Regions from separate parts of the Homo sapiens genome. Here region 1 is linked to region 2. The links are contacts of gene promoters, found by promoter capture Hi-C in human tissues and cell types (Jung and others, 2019). All regions are on one chromosome and are shown on one strand. Each heading gives the region's core, a stretch centred on a gene start or on the middle of the fragment in contact. The rest is flanking DNA. Distances are from core to core; before and after follow the strand shown. Region 1 has its middle 290 kb from the start of LINC01090. Region 2 holds the start of GULP1 (GULP PTB domain containing engulfment adaptor 1).

Region 1 (6,533 bases), core at 697-3,196, 300 kb before region 2:
GGGATCTGGGCACCGTGCTTCAGGGGCATAAGGGAAGTGGTGTGGCCCAAGAGCCATGATTTCTGTTTCAATGAGGAAGCCTCGTGGCCTGGGGCAGCTTGGGGTTCTAAGCACAGGCTGCCTGGACCCCAGCTAGCTGCTGCTAGTGGATCACTGTGGGTTCCATTAGCACTATGCACTCACCAAGTGCATAGGAGCTGGGTGGAGCTTACTGCTGCCTGCTACCCTCCATTCCACATGAGGATTCTTTTGTGCAGCAGAGGCAGCGGCGCTCCTCCTTGGAACATTATCTCAGTAGCCAGAGAACTGCCCTCTGATGCCACTGGGGCCTCTGCTTGCTCCTGCATGTGTGAAGCCAGAATATGAACTTGCCTAACCCAACCCCCACCTGGCTTTGCCCCTCCACTCATCACAGTAGCTTAACACAAAGGACAGGGACTTTTTGAAGCTCTATGGCCCCACCCATTGCCTGAGACACCAGAGTACCTCCCGTGTGTAACATAGGGCAAGCACAAATCCTAATGCTACTACCACAGCTGGTGCTCTTTTGCAAGTGCCATCTCCTGGCTGGAAGCCAACCAGCACAGTTCATTATAGCATCTGCAGGCAGAATGACACAGTACCAAGAAGGGAGGAAGCTTTTGCATGACCTCAGCTATCAACACTGCCTGCATCACCCTGGCTAATCAGGAAGTCTTGAGTCTGTCCATACAACCAGCTCATTACTACTACAACTAGCATTTGAGAAAGCCAATATACTAAGGCTATTTATAACCAAGGAAATTTCACAGAGTCTGTGTCACTCACCTGCCACCCTCATCAGAGCTGGCGCTGGTACTCAGTGCTGGGAGATTAGAGAACAAGTCACATCACTGGATTCCTTGCAGAAATTCCCAGCCTAAAGTGTGGCAGCTTCACTGGGTAGCAAGACCCAGAGGAGCAGCAAGATTCACAGTAGTCTGTCCCTTAGTGTGACAGGAGTTATTAAGAAATTATTTTAGGCAGATAGAGAGGAAAAGGGGTCCTTGGAAAGTTTTTGTCTCTTTTAAAGCAGCTCCAGAAATGTTTCTTGTTTAGCAGGAAAGCCCCAGATCTTAGAGCCTGGCAGCAAGCTTTGATATGCAAATGCTGGGCATTAGAAACTCGGTCCACCAAAACATGGCAATTCCCATGCTCTTCTCCCTGCCCTTGCCCCCACAAGTGCCTGGCAACATGGCCACCCTGACATATCTCTATACGTGTAGAACATCATGGTGCCCCACATTTGCATACTAGAAGGCTAGGGTGTGAGAGCGAGGTTTTTCGCGCACTACATGAGTGACATGCCTGGTCAAACCAATCCCCAGAGCCCTATGCAAATCAGATACCACCTCCTCCAGCCTACTCATATAAGCAGCCACTTTTCCGTGGCACAGGGAGTCTCCTCTCAGCCTTGGAGCCCTCCTCCTTATGTCTCTGTACAGGGGAGCTTCTTCCTTCTTTCTTCTCCCTCCCTTCTTGCCTATTAAACTCTCTACTCCTTAAAACCACTCCACGTGTGTCCGTGTGGCCTTATCTAATTCGGCATGAGACAAGAGCCCTGGTGTTCCTCCACTCATCAGAGCCGTATCATCAGATCCCCTACTCCTAAGGGAAGGGGGGGTGCACCTCATCAAAGGAGTACCTTGTGAGACAAAATAATTCAGACTGCAGACCTTGAGTTTCCTAACTTTACGCTTGTGGAAAATTTCTTTCAGCAGAGACACAGGTGTGCTGGTGGGCCTAGTGGGGAAAGTCTATGACTGTATCTCCAGTGGTCAGGCAGCCCTGGTACTCATGAAGGGTTTTGAAGAAGGGAATTTATTCTCCTCCTCACTCACCACTGCAGACACACAGAGTTTTGACATAGGTGCACCCATAGACAGACTCTCTGGAACACTTCAGGGTGACTACATCCCCACAGGAGGAGTGTACTCTAGGTTCAGGCTTGCATGAGGAGTAGAGTCACAATCTCTCTCTACACCAAACATCAGCATTCCTGCAGCTGAAAAGAGGTGCCTGTCTCATCTGAATAACCAGAACACTGGGTCAGAAGTGTGACTGTGAGGTGGAAAGCTTTCCTTCTGGTGTGGTAGGGGAGCTGAGATGGCTCCCTCTCTTCTCCCTGTAAAGACCTCAGTGTGTTTAACTGAGAACTCTCCTGGCTGTTTCTGTCAAGGCTGGGACCTCTGCCCACAATTGGGGTATTGTGTTTATCCACTTGCTTCAGCTGCAAGCAGTTTTTACCTACAGACACTTCTTACTGGGCCGAAACTTGAACTGTTCAACCCAGTGAGTAGAATACTGGAAGAATGAATGAATGAATGAATGTATGAATGAGTGAATGAATGAATGAATTTCACACCACTGGGAAATAAGATAAGCTTCATGAGACCTCTGTTATTCTGGTCCCATGGAAGACAGTGAACCTGTTTCACACACCAAGTATACTGCTACTACAACCATCACTGGAGAAAGCCATTATACATAGACTGTCTGTAACCAAAGATTTCATATGCAGTCTTCATTATTGAAAGCACTCAGAGGCAAATTATGTTACAATAAACCATAATCATTAAAGTTATATTCTCAAAGGGAAAAAAATTAAAAAATACAATTATCAAATATAAATTCAAAAATATTTGGAAGAAGTAAGAAGAAACCAGAAAAAGAATTCTGGCAATATGACAAGGCAGGGTTCTATGACATCCCCAAAAGATCACAGTAGCTCTCCAGCAATGGATCCAAACCAAGATGAGCTCTTTGCAATACTAGATAAAGAAATCAAAAGGTTGATCATTAAGTTACTCAAGGAGATACAGGAGAAAGGTAGACACCAACATAAACAAATTTTTAAAAATGATTCAGAATATGAATGAAAAAGTTTCTAAAGAGATAGATATTTTAAAGAAAAACCAACCAGAACTTCTGGCAATCAAAGAAACACTTAGGGAATCCCAGAATGCAGCGGAAAGTTTCAACAATAGACTAGATCAAGTAGAAGAAAGAATTTCAGAGCTCAAAGACAAGGCTTTCAAATTAACCCAAGCAGACCAAAATTAGGAAAAAAGAATTAAGAAAAATATTAACAAAGCCTTCAAGAAATATGAGATTATGTAAAATGGCCAAACCTAAGAATCACTGGTGCTCTTGAGGGAGAAGGAAAAGCAAAACATTTGGAGAACTTATTTGAGAAAATAATTGAGGGAAACTTTCATGGCTCAAATAAATGAAACTCAAAGAACTCCTGGCAGTTCATTGCAAAAAAGACATCACCGAGGCATACAGTTATCAGATTATTTAAAGTCAATGTGAAAGAAAGAATTCTAAGCGACATGAGACAGAAGCATCAGGTAACCAATAAAATAAAACCTATCAGACTCAGAGCAGACTTTTCAGCAGAAACCTTATAAGCTAATAGGGATTGAGGTCCTATCTTTAGTCTCCTTAAACAGAAAAATAGCCAAGAATTTTGTATCCTCCAAAATTAAGTTACATAAATGAAGGAGAAATAAACACTTTTTCAGATAAGCAAATGCTGAGGGAGTTTGTCACTACCAGATCAGCCCTACAAGCAATGCTAAAAGGAGTTCTAAATCTTGAAACAAAATATTGATATGCACCAGAATAGAAACTCTTAAAAGCATAATATTCACAGGGCTTATAAAACAATAACACAATGAAGGAAACAAAGTAACTAGGTAACAATCAACATGTTGACTGTCACAGTAACTTACTTCTCAATATTAACATTGAATGTAAATAGCCTAAATGCTCCCCTTAAAAAATACAGATTGGCAGAATGGATAAAAAAAAAAATCACAAACCAAATATCTACTGTCTTCAAAACACACATCTGACTGGTAAGAAATTTTATAGACTCAAGGTAAAGGGATGGAAAAAGAGATTCCATACAAATGGAAACCAAAGCAGGAGTAGCTATGATTACATCAGATAAAACGGACTTTAAAGCAACAACAGTAAAAAAAAAAAAAAAAAGACAAAGAAGGTAATTATCTAATGATACAAAAAGATCAATTCAACAAGAAGGTATAACAATCCTAAATATATATGCATCTAATTACGGAGCTCCCAAATTTATAAAACAATTACTACTAGACCTAAGAAAAGAGACAAAAAAGAACACAGTAACAGTGCGGGACTTCAACACTCCACTGACAGCAATAGACAGATCATTGAGGGAAAAAGTAAACAGAGACACTGGATTTAAACTATATTCTAGAGCAAATAGACCTAACAGATATTTACAAAATATTCTATCCAAGAACTGCAGAATATACCTTCTTTTCATCAGCACATAAAGCATTCTCCAAGATAGACTATATCACAGGCTACAAAAAAAGACTTAATAAATTTTTAAAATCAAAATTATGTCAAGTATCTTCTCAGACAACAACAGAATAAAACTAGAAATTAATTCCAAAAGAACCCATCAAAACTATACAAATACATAGAAATTAAGCAATATGCTCCTGAATGATTTTTGGGTTAACATGAAATCAGGATGGACATTTTAAAATTCTTTGAAATATGTGATAACAAACAGTGATACAAATTATCAAAACTTCTGGATTACAGCAAAAGCAGTGAAAAGAGGAAAGTGGTTAGTGCTAATGCCTACATCAAAAAGCCTGAAAGACAACAAATTAACAACCTAACCTCACGCCTCAAGGAACTAGAAGAACAGAACAAACTAAACCCAAATCTAGCAGAAGAAAATAATAACAAAGATCAGAGCAAAACTAAATAAAATTGAAAACAAAAAAAAATACAAAAGACCAATGAAATGAAAAGTTGGTTTTTTGAAAAGATAAACAAAATCAATAGACCACTGGATACATTAACCAAAAAAAGATTCAAATAAGCTCAATAGAAATGAAAATGGAGACATTACAACTGACACTGCAGAAATGCAAAAGCTCATTTGAGACTACTGCGAACACCTCTATGCCCAAAACTAGAAAATCTAGAGGAAATGGATAAATTCCTGGAAACATACACTCCTCCTAGCTTGAATCAGGAAGAAATAGGAATCCTGAACAGACCAGTAAAAAGCAATGATATTGAATCAATAATAAAAAACTTGCCAACAAAAACAGACTGATTCACAGCCAAATTAAACCAGACATTCAAAGAAAAATTGGTACCAATTCTACTAAAACTATTACAAAAGACTGAGAAAGGAGAGAATCCTCCCTAATTTTGTATGAAGCCAGTATCACCATGATACTAAAGCCAGAAAAGGGCATAACAAAAAAAGAAAACTACACACTAATATCCTTGACGAACATAGATACAAAAATCCTCAACAAAATACTAGCAAACTGAATCCAACAGCATATTGCAAAGATAATTCACCAAGATCAAGTCGGTGTCATCCCAGGGATGTGGGGATGGTTCAACATATGCAAGTCAATAAATGTGATTCATCACATAAGCAGAATTACAAACAAAAACCATGTGATCATCTCAATAAATGCAGAAAAAACATTCAGTAATTTCTACCATTGCTTTATGAAAAACGCACAAAAAACTAGTCATAGAAGGAATATACCTAAAATAATGAAAGCAACATATGACAGATTCACAGCCAACATCGCAATGAATGAGGAAAAGTTGAAAGTGTTACCCCTAAGAACTGGAACAACACAGGATGCCCACTTCCACCTCTTCTATTCACCACTGTACTGGAAGTCTCAGCCAGAGCAATTGGGCGAGAGAAAGAAATAAAGGGCATCCAAATTGGAAAAAAGAAAGTCAAACTATTTCTGGTTACTAATGGTAAGATTTTATAGCTACAAAACCCAAAGATTCCTTCAAAAGACTCCTGAATTTGATAAATGAATTCAGTAAAGTCTCAGGTTACAAAATCAATGTACATAAATCAGTAGCACTGACAGCTGAGAATCAAGCCAGGAACCCAATCCGTTTTACAATAACTTAAAAAAGAAGAAGAAGAAGAAGAAGAAAACTAGGAATATTACTGAACCAAAGAGGTGAAAGATTGCTATAAGCAGAACTACAAAACACTATTGAAATAAATCATAAGTGACACAAACAAATGGAAATACATCTTGTTCTTATGGATTGGAAGAGTCAATGTCATGAAAATGACCATACTGCCCAAAGCAATCTACACATTCAATGTAATTCCTATCAAAATATCAGCACTTTTTTTCACAGAACTAGAAAAAAAATCTCAAATTCATGTGGAATGAAAAAAGAGCCTGAATGGCCAAAGCAGTCTTAAGCGAAAAGAACAAATCTGGAGACACCACATTACCCGACTTTGCATGATACTACAAGCCTATCGTAACCAAAGCAGCATAGTTCTGGTATAAAAGTAGATACATAGACAAATGGAACAGAATAGAGAACCCAGAAATAAAGCCAGATACTTACAACCAACTTGTCTTTGAAGGAAGCATAGAAAAAATAAATAAACTGGGGGAAAGGCACCCTATTCAATAAATGGTGCTGGAAAAACTGGATAA
Region 2 (6,224 bases), core at 3,200-5,699:
GAAAAATGCATATGAAAATAAATATTTTGAAAGAATACTTACAAAAAAGTAGTAGTATGGGCCGGGCGCAGTGTCTCACGCCTGTAAGCCCAGCACTTTGGGAGGCCGAGGCGGGCGGATGACGAGGTCAGGAGATCAAGACCATTCTGGCTACGGTGAAACCCCGTCTCTACTAAAAATAAAAAATAAAATAAAATAAAAAAATTAGCCGGGAGTGGTGGCGCGGCGCCTGTAGTTCCAGCTACTCAGGAGGCTGAGGCAGGAAAATGGCGTGAACCCGGGAGGCGGAGCTTGCCGTGAGCCGAGATCGCGCCACTGCACTCCAGCCTGGGCGACAGAGGGAGACTCCGTCTCAAAAAAAAAAAAAAAAAAAAAAAAAAAAGGAGTAGTATGTACGTTATACTTCCACATGAAAAAAATGGAAAGAAAATTGTTAAGTGTCTGTGGGTGCTGGGTAATGCCTTTCCTCTACTCCTGGTTTCCATGCAAAAATATTTTACTGGGTCTTTACTTACTTGCCCTTGGAGAGATGTTATGACATTTGGTAGATAAACTTAGGAATAAACTTGGGAAGAATTGCTGGGCATGCCAGGCTCAACTACCTTTCTCTCTCTTTCATTCTTTGGAATAGAACTCAAAAAACAATTTAAATCCTTTTTCAAAGGCACTGTCTCCTTTCAGGTTAGAAGGAGGCCAGGAACTACGTTGACTGAGGCTGCTGTTTCAGTTCTTTGCTTTTGGATCTACCAATTCAAATCCGTTATCTGTCAATCATAGAGTAATATTTTGCTCTCATTTTTTTGGTCAATTTATTCCCCACCCAGGCATAAAGAAGGGATACTATTTATCCGGGTCTCTCAGAGGCCTCAACAAACCTTGGAGCATATAGAGAAAATGTGAGCAATAGGTACTTTTGGTGATGGGAATACAGGTGATATTTATTTCCCTTTTGCAGTTGCCCTCCTATTTTTTTTTCTTTTTTTGCAATGGTCATGTTTCATGTTCTTAATCAAGAAGATCAAAATAAAGCGATTCTTTCAGAATGACAGATAAAATGATAGAGGTTTGAAGGTAAATGTAACACAGTAACTTTGGAACCCAGAGCCCCTAGGAACTCATAGGATATTTGGCCACTGTTACACATGACAAACAGAAACATGACCCCCTTTCAAATCACATGACTGAAATTTGAATTTCAGTCTTGGTTTTCATTACAGTTTTTAAAAAGTTGTCAAATACTTTAAATGTTGGTTTTGCAGAAATATAGGGCTAAACAACCAGCATATTTTTTGTGTGCTTTTGCAATAATCAGAAATAAAATTGGTTTTCTTAAGGTAAGTAACAGGTCGTTTTTTTGTCTTAGCCAAAGTTCCCTTAGTTAGGGTAAGAGAAACTTAATTCTGGTTTGAGCAAGAAAATTAATTTAAAAATACTGGAGGCCAGGCGTGGTGGCTCACACCTGTAATCCCAGCACTTTGGCAGGCCGAGGCGGGTGGATCACGAGGTCAGGAGATTGAGACCATCCTGGCTAGCAGAGTGAAATCTTGTCTCTACTAAAAATACAAAAAAAAAAAAAAAAAAAAAAAAAAATAGCCGGGCATGGTGGCGGCCGCCTGTAGTCCCAGCTACTCGGGCGGCTGAGGAAGGAGAACGGTGTGAACACGGAGGCGGAGCTTGCAGTGAGCCAAGATCGCACCACTGCACTCCAGCCTGGGCGACAAAGCAAGACTCCGCCTCAAAAAAAAAAAATAAATAAATAAATAAAAATAAAAATTACTGGAAAGCTGCTGAGTTTCTATCAGGGTCTATATGAACCTATGATGAATGTGAAGAACTTTCAAATGGAAATCTGAGGTATTTGCAGTAGGTAAAATTAGGCGTATTTGTCATCGTAGTGCCCTGCTAGGCTTCTGCAACCCTTTTCTTTGGCATCTCCCTTCTTCACTTCCTGGGGCATGCTATAAATTTGTTTTAAAATCTTGTTCCATTTGGTTCTATTGTTTTTAAAAACTTGGTTCTGACACTCTTGAGATTTTTATACCTCTAAGCCATTTCACAAAGAAGATCATATCAAAAGTCAGGTTATAAAAATTACAAAGCAATAGCAAGTTTAAAGACTTTAAACAGTGGGAGAAAATATAAAAGTGAGTAATCTTTAGCACTGTATGTAACGATTGGAAAAAGACAGTTATGAGGACTCATCTATCTTCATTTATCCATTCATGATGGATGTGCTTTGTAGCCATATTTTTTTTTCCCTCTTTAGGATCTTCCAAGTCTTATGGATAGGAAAGACAGATCTCTAAAGAGGCTATGATATGCCTTTAGGAAACTGAGGATGAGGCCGGAGTAGTAAATAACTCTTACTTAGAAGGAGTATATAGGGTCTCATCCCTGAGAACATGGGAGTTAGTTATGTAAATGTTCAGATGATTTTCAACATTGTATATGGTAAGGAAGAATTTTTTAAAAAGACCTTCTTACAGGTACTAGAGGCAAATGAATGAGAAATAAGTACATGCTATGGGATTTTCCATTATTTCACAGGATGGAAAGTTTGATCTCTGTAGCCTGATTTTGTTCTTTGGCCTTGAACTTGTTCAAGTTGAATTGTGTGTCCTGAACACTGATCTAGTTGTTCACAAACTAGGGTCAGCCAACTGTAGTGGTATGTTGATGTATTCTTGGGAATCGAGAGTTATTATAATCTTTTAATATTATGGCTAAAAAACCCAAAATATCTATGTGTAAATATATAATGTAAGCATGGATTCGTTCATCTCATCAACCTCCTTATTCCTAAATACTGGACTACCATTTGTTTTATTTTTATAATCACATTGATACCAAGTGATCATCTAAATGACATTATTTAATTTTTAATGATTGTTCATAAATTAATTGCTTAAGAGTTATTTACAGAAAAAAACTAGCATTTGTCCTGAGATTAATATTTTTAATATAATTATTTTTATGTGTGCTTGACTATTGTGATAAAGAGAAAAACAGTTAAAAGAGGACCCCAGCCAAGTTATTATGAGGACTGATTTCTGATATTAGCTTTAGTACCTCCAAACCATGAGATTTGGGGAAAGTCACTTAAGAGCCCTAGACTTCAGTTACCTTGTATTTAAAATAAGGGAGTTCAGCTGGAACTAGTTAATCTGTAAACATAGTTTCCATTTCAAAAATTGTGAAATGATGCCTTTTTAAATGGAAAAAGCATTAAGGAGAAGAAAACTGATTCAGTTACAGGGTCTTTGGGGGAAAATTTCTAGCACCACCCTCTCTCCTAATTACAGTAAAACATGGTGGGATATAAGAACCAAATATTTATTGAGTATTTTCTCTGCGCCTATCACAACTCTATTTTAACTCCTGTAAATGTGACTGTGACTCCGTGAGCTAGATTATAGAATTCCTGTTGACAGTTATAATTGGTAGGCACAGAAAGCGTAAAGATGGAGTTTGGAATGGAATCTGGCCTGTCTGACTCTAAGCCCTGGATCCACTGTAATACATTATAACTGCTAGCTTTGCAAAATGCCTTTTTCCTTTTCTCATCTATTTTCACACTCAAACTAAAATTTAGTAAACTAAATTCTGAGCAGCAGAAAAAATTTTAGTAAAGGTCCTCTCATCCTTGAAGAACTTCTTATATAAGGATACTCCTTCTTGCTCCCTTTCCCACGCAGAACTTTACCAAAGGTCAGTAAGAATGGGCTGTTGTGTTTTCTCTCAAATCCTATACAGAAGTCCTTAATTCCGAGGTAAACATCTGAATGGAACAAATGAGTATGATCTGGGGGTTAAGGCAATTTTCAAGTGTGTGTATGTGTGTGTCTGTTTTAAGGCATAACAAAGTCCAGAGATTAAGGCCGAGTTAAAAAACAAATGAGGACAAACCAATGAGGACAAACCAGTCCGCTGAGGTGCGGCCAGAGCAGCAGCAACTGTGGCTGCTTTCTTGATAAAGGCTGTGAAGACGGCACGTTTTACTCTTATTCGTGTATTTCTTTTGACACTTTACCCCTCTATGAAGCCTCAGAGGTGTTTTAAAATTGTGTTAGGAAACACACAGAGATAAGAAAAGGCAAATGGTCCTGATCTAGTGTCTCAGGGAAGAGGCTGGAAAGGAAACGCGGCGCGAGTGGGGTGGGAGAGGGGGCCTGTGGTTTTGCTTCTGTCCGGGCTGAAGACTGAGTAAGGTAGGGCCCCTCCTTCTGCGGATGGGTTTCTCTCTCATTCCACCCTCCACCCACCTCCGGTTCCGCGTGCACGCGCGAGATAGTCCAGTGGGCCCACAGATAACGACCATCAGAGATTAAAGAAGGAAAGTCAGCGAGCTTGAACACAGGCGTCCCGTGTGGAAATGTCCAAGGAGACCGCCAGAAGTGCGCAAGCCGGAGTCGGCTAGAGTTTCCTTCTCACCGAGAGGGGGAGCCCGGCGTTCCCGGCCGGGAGCGACCCGGAGTCCCCAGCCCCGCGTCCCAGCTGCCGCCAGCGCCAGTTTTGGATTCGGCGGATTAGGAAGAGGAGGGAGGGGGGAGAGAGCGCGAAGAGGGAGGGGACCGAAGCTGGAGGGTCCCGAGTCCAGCGCCGTGTTGGCGTAGAGAAACTTTCCCTCTCGGCCTCGGAGACGGCGCCCCGGCCGTGCCGGAGTGGAGATCGCCAGGCTCGGAGGAACCGGCAGCTCTCCACGCCCCTGCCCGAAGCCTGACCCGACTGCCTCTCTCAGTGAGGTACGGAGATTTATCTAGGCTCTTCCCTGGCTGCGAACCCAGGCTCCCTCCAGGTAGCGTGGAATCGCTTAGAAGCTGATATCCCGAGGGGCGGTGGGGGTGGACAGCTCCGGCCACCAGTGCCCGGGAAGGAGGGCGCGGGGCTGCGCGTAGCCGCTGGCCAGCAGGTTGTAAAAAATTAGGACAGCTAAATGCTCAGGGAGTCGTCCAGCACTAAAGGAGGCTAAGACCTGTTGACGCCTGCTATGGCAGCGCTTGAGAAATGACTGGGGGAGTCCAGCGAGGTCGGGGACGCAGCGGTCTCCGGGCTCCAGAAACCTCCTTAGCCTTTTGTGGTAACTTTGGTCCGGCGGCGGGGGGCCGGTGAGCAGGAACTGGAGGGAGGCGGTGGGGAAACCGTGGATCCGTCCGGCTGAGGGTGCGTGGATCAGACTGGGCTGAGCAGGCAAGTCATCGTCGGGTCACAGCGAGGCGACCCAGGAGCGAACTTCCAGGGCAGCCTCCCTTTTGTTGGCGCTGGGAGAGAATGTGGGCATGGGGGTGGGGAGGCGCGAAGCTCCGAGGCCGGGCCGCGGATACTTTAAAGCTCAGAGCTGGGAGGGCCCAAAGGAAGGGGCGGCGTCCACATGGTTACCCTTCTGCTGCGCGGGTCAAGTAGCTTCTTCTGGAGGGCGCAAGGCGCGGCGGGGGTGATGAGCCCTTGGGTTCTCGCTCCGACTGCTAAATTCGCTTGGCCGGGTCCACCTTCTCGTGGCCTCACTCGCCACACGGATCAGAATCCGGAGCAGGCAGTTCTCTCTATTCTGAGGCTCCTGCGGCTGCCGCGCTGACTTCCCTGTGTGCGGGAGGGAACTCTGGGCAGGCTGGTTTTCTTGGAATGTGTTTACGATGTTGAATGGGACTTGAACAGGAAGCTGGACGCTGCAGCTGGAACTAGCGTGCCAAGGTAGAGTAAGGAAGACTTAGCTGGTGTTGGGCTTGGCGGGTCCACTTGGTACGCTGGGCAAACTCCAAGTAAGTGAGGGCTGGCAGTCAAGGTACCCCTCCCTAGGTCCTAGTAGTGTTTCCCAACTGAGCTCGCCTTACTCATTTGCAATCAGACATTTTACATGCACTATTTCAATCTGCAAGTTTGACAAAGTGTAATGCAGTCAATTAGGAAGGATTTAATAAATTTATTTTGTGCCTGCTTTTAAAATACGTTACACCAACATTTGAGAATAAAAAGTTACGGAGAATGTTCAAGTCATGACTGATTTCTAGGACTAGCAGGAGACAATACTGATGATTTTGTGTCTGTATTACAAAATGGGTGATTAGGTGCTAAAGTAAGGGAGATTATTAGACAGAGTGAATGTGAGGAAGTGGAAAACTTTCAGAGGAATTGGAAATTCTTCAAATTTGCAAATTGCTCCCTTTCTCTGCCAGTCTTTCCCTTTTCCCCCCATATGAACAAGTAGCCTTGGCTGGAAAACCCACAAA

The links. The method cuts DNA at HindIII sites, captures the fragments that hold promoters and counts their contacts. A contact is called where the count stands out against the background at its distance.
Region 1: a fragment that was not itself captured here is called in contact with the fragment with the promoter of GULP1 in region 2 in 1 of the 25 tissues and cell types used here (aorta).

Annotation. Positions count from the first base shown.
Region 1 is chr2:187,994,439-188,000,971 of GRCh38, forward strand. No RefSeq gene overlaps it. Among named protein-coding and RNA genes, the nearest start is that of LINC01090, 290 kb to the right of the region's middle. The HindIII fragment of the contact is 5,266 bases long and covers 1-4,579 here.
Region 2 is chr2:188,287,425-188,293,648 of GRCh38, forward strand. It overlaps GULP1 (GULP PTB domain containing engulfment adaptor 1), which reads left to right and starts at 4,450. Exons shown (of 12, transcript NM_016315.4): 1 at 4,450-4,742. LINC01090 (long intergenic non-protein coding RNA 1090) reads right to left here and starts at 267. Exons shown (of 3, transcript NR_126396.1): 1 at 43-267. The HindIII fragment of the contact is 13,352 bases long and covers 1-6,224 here.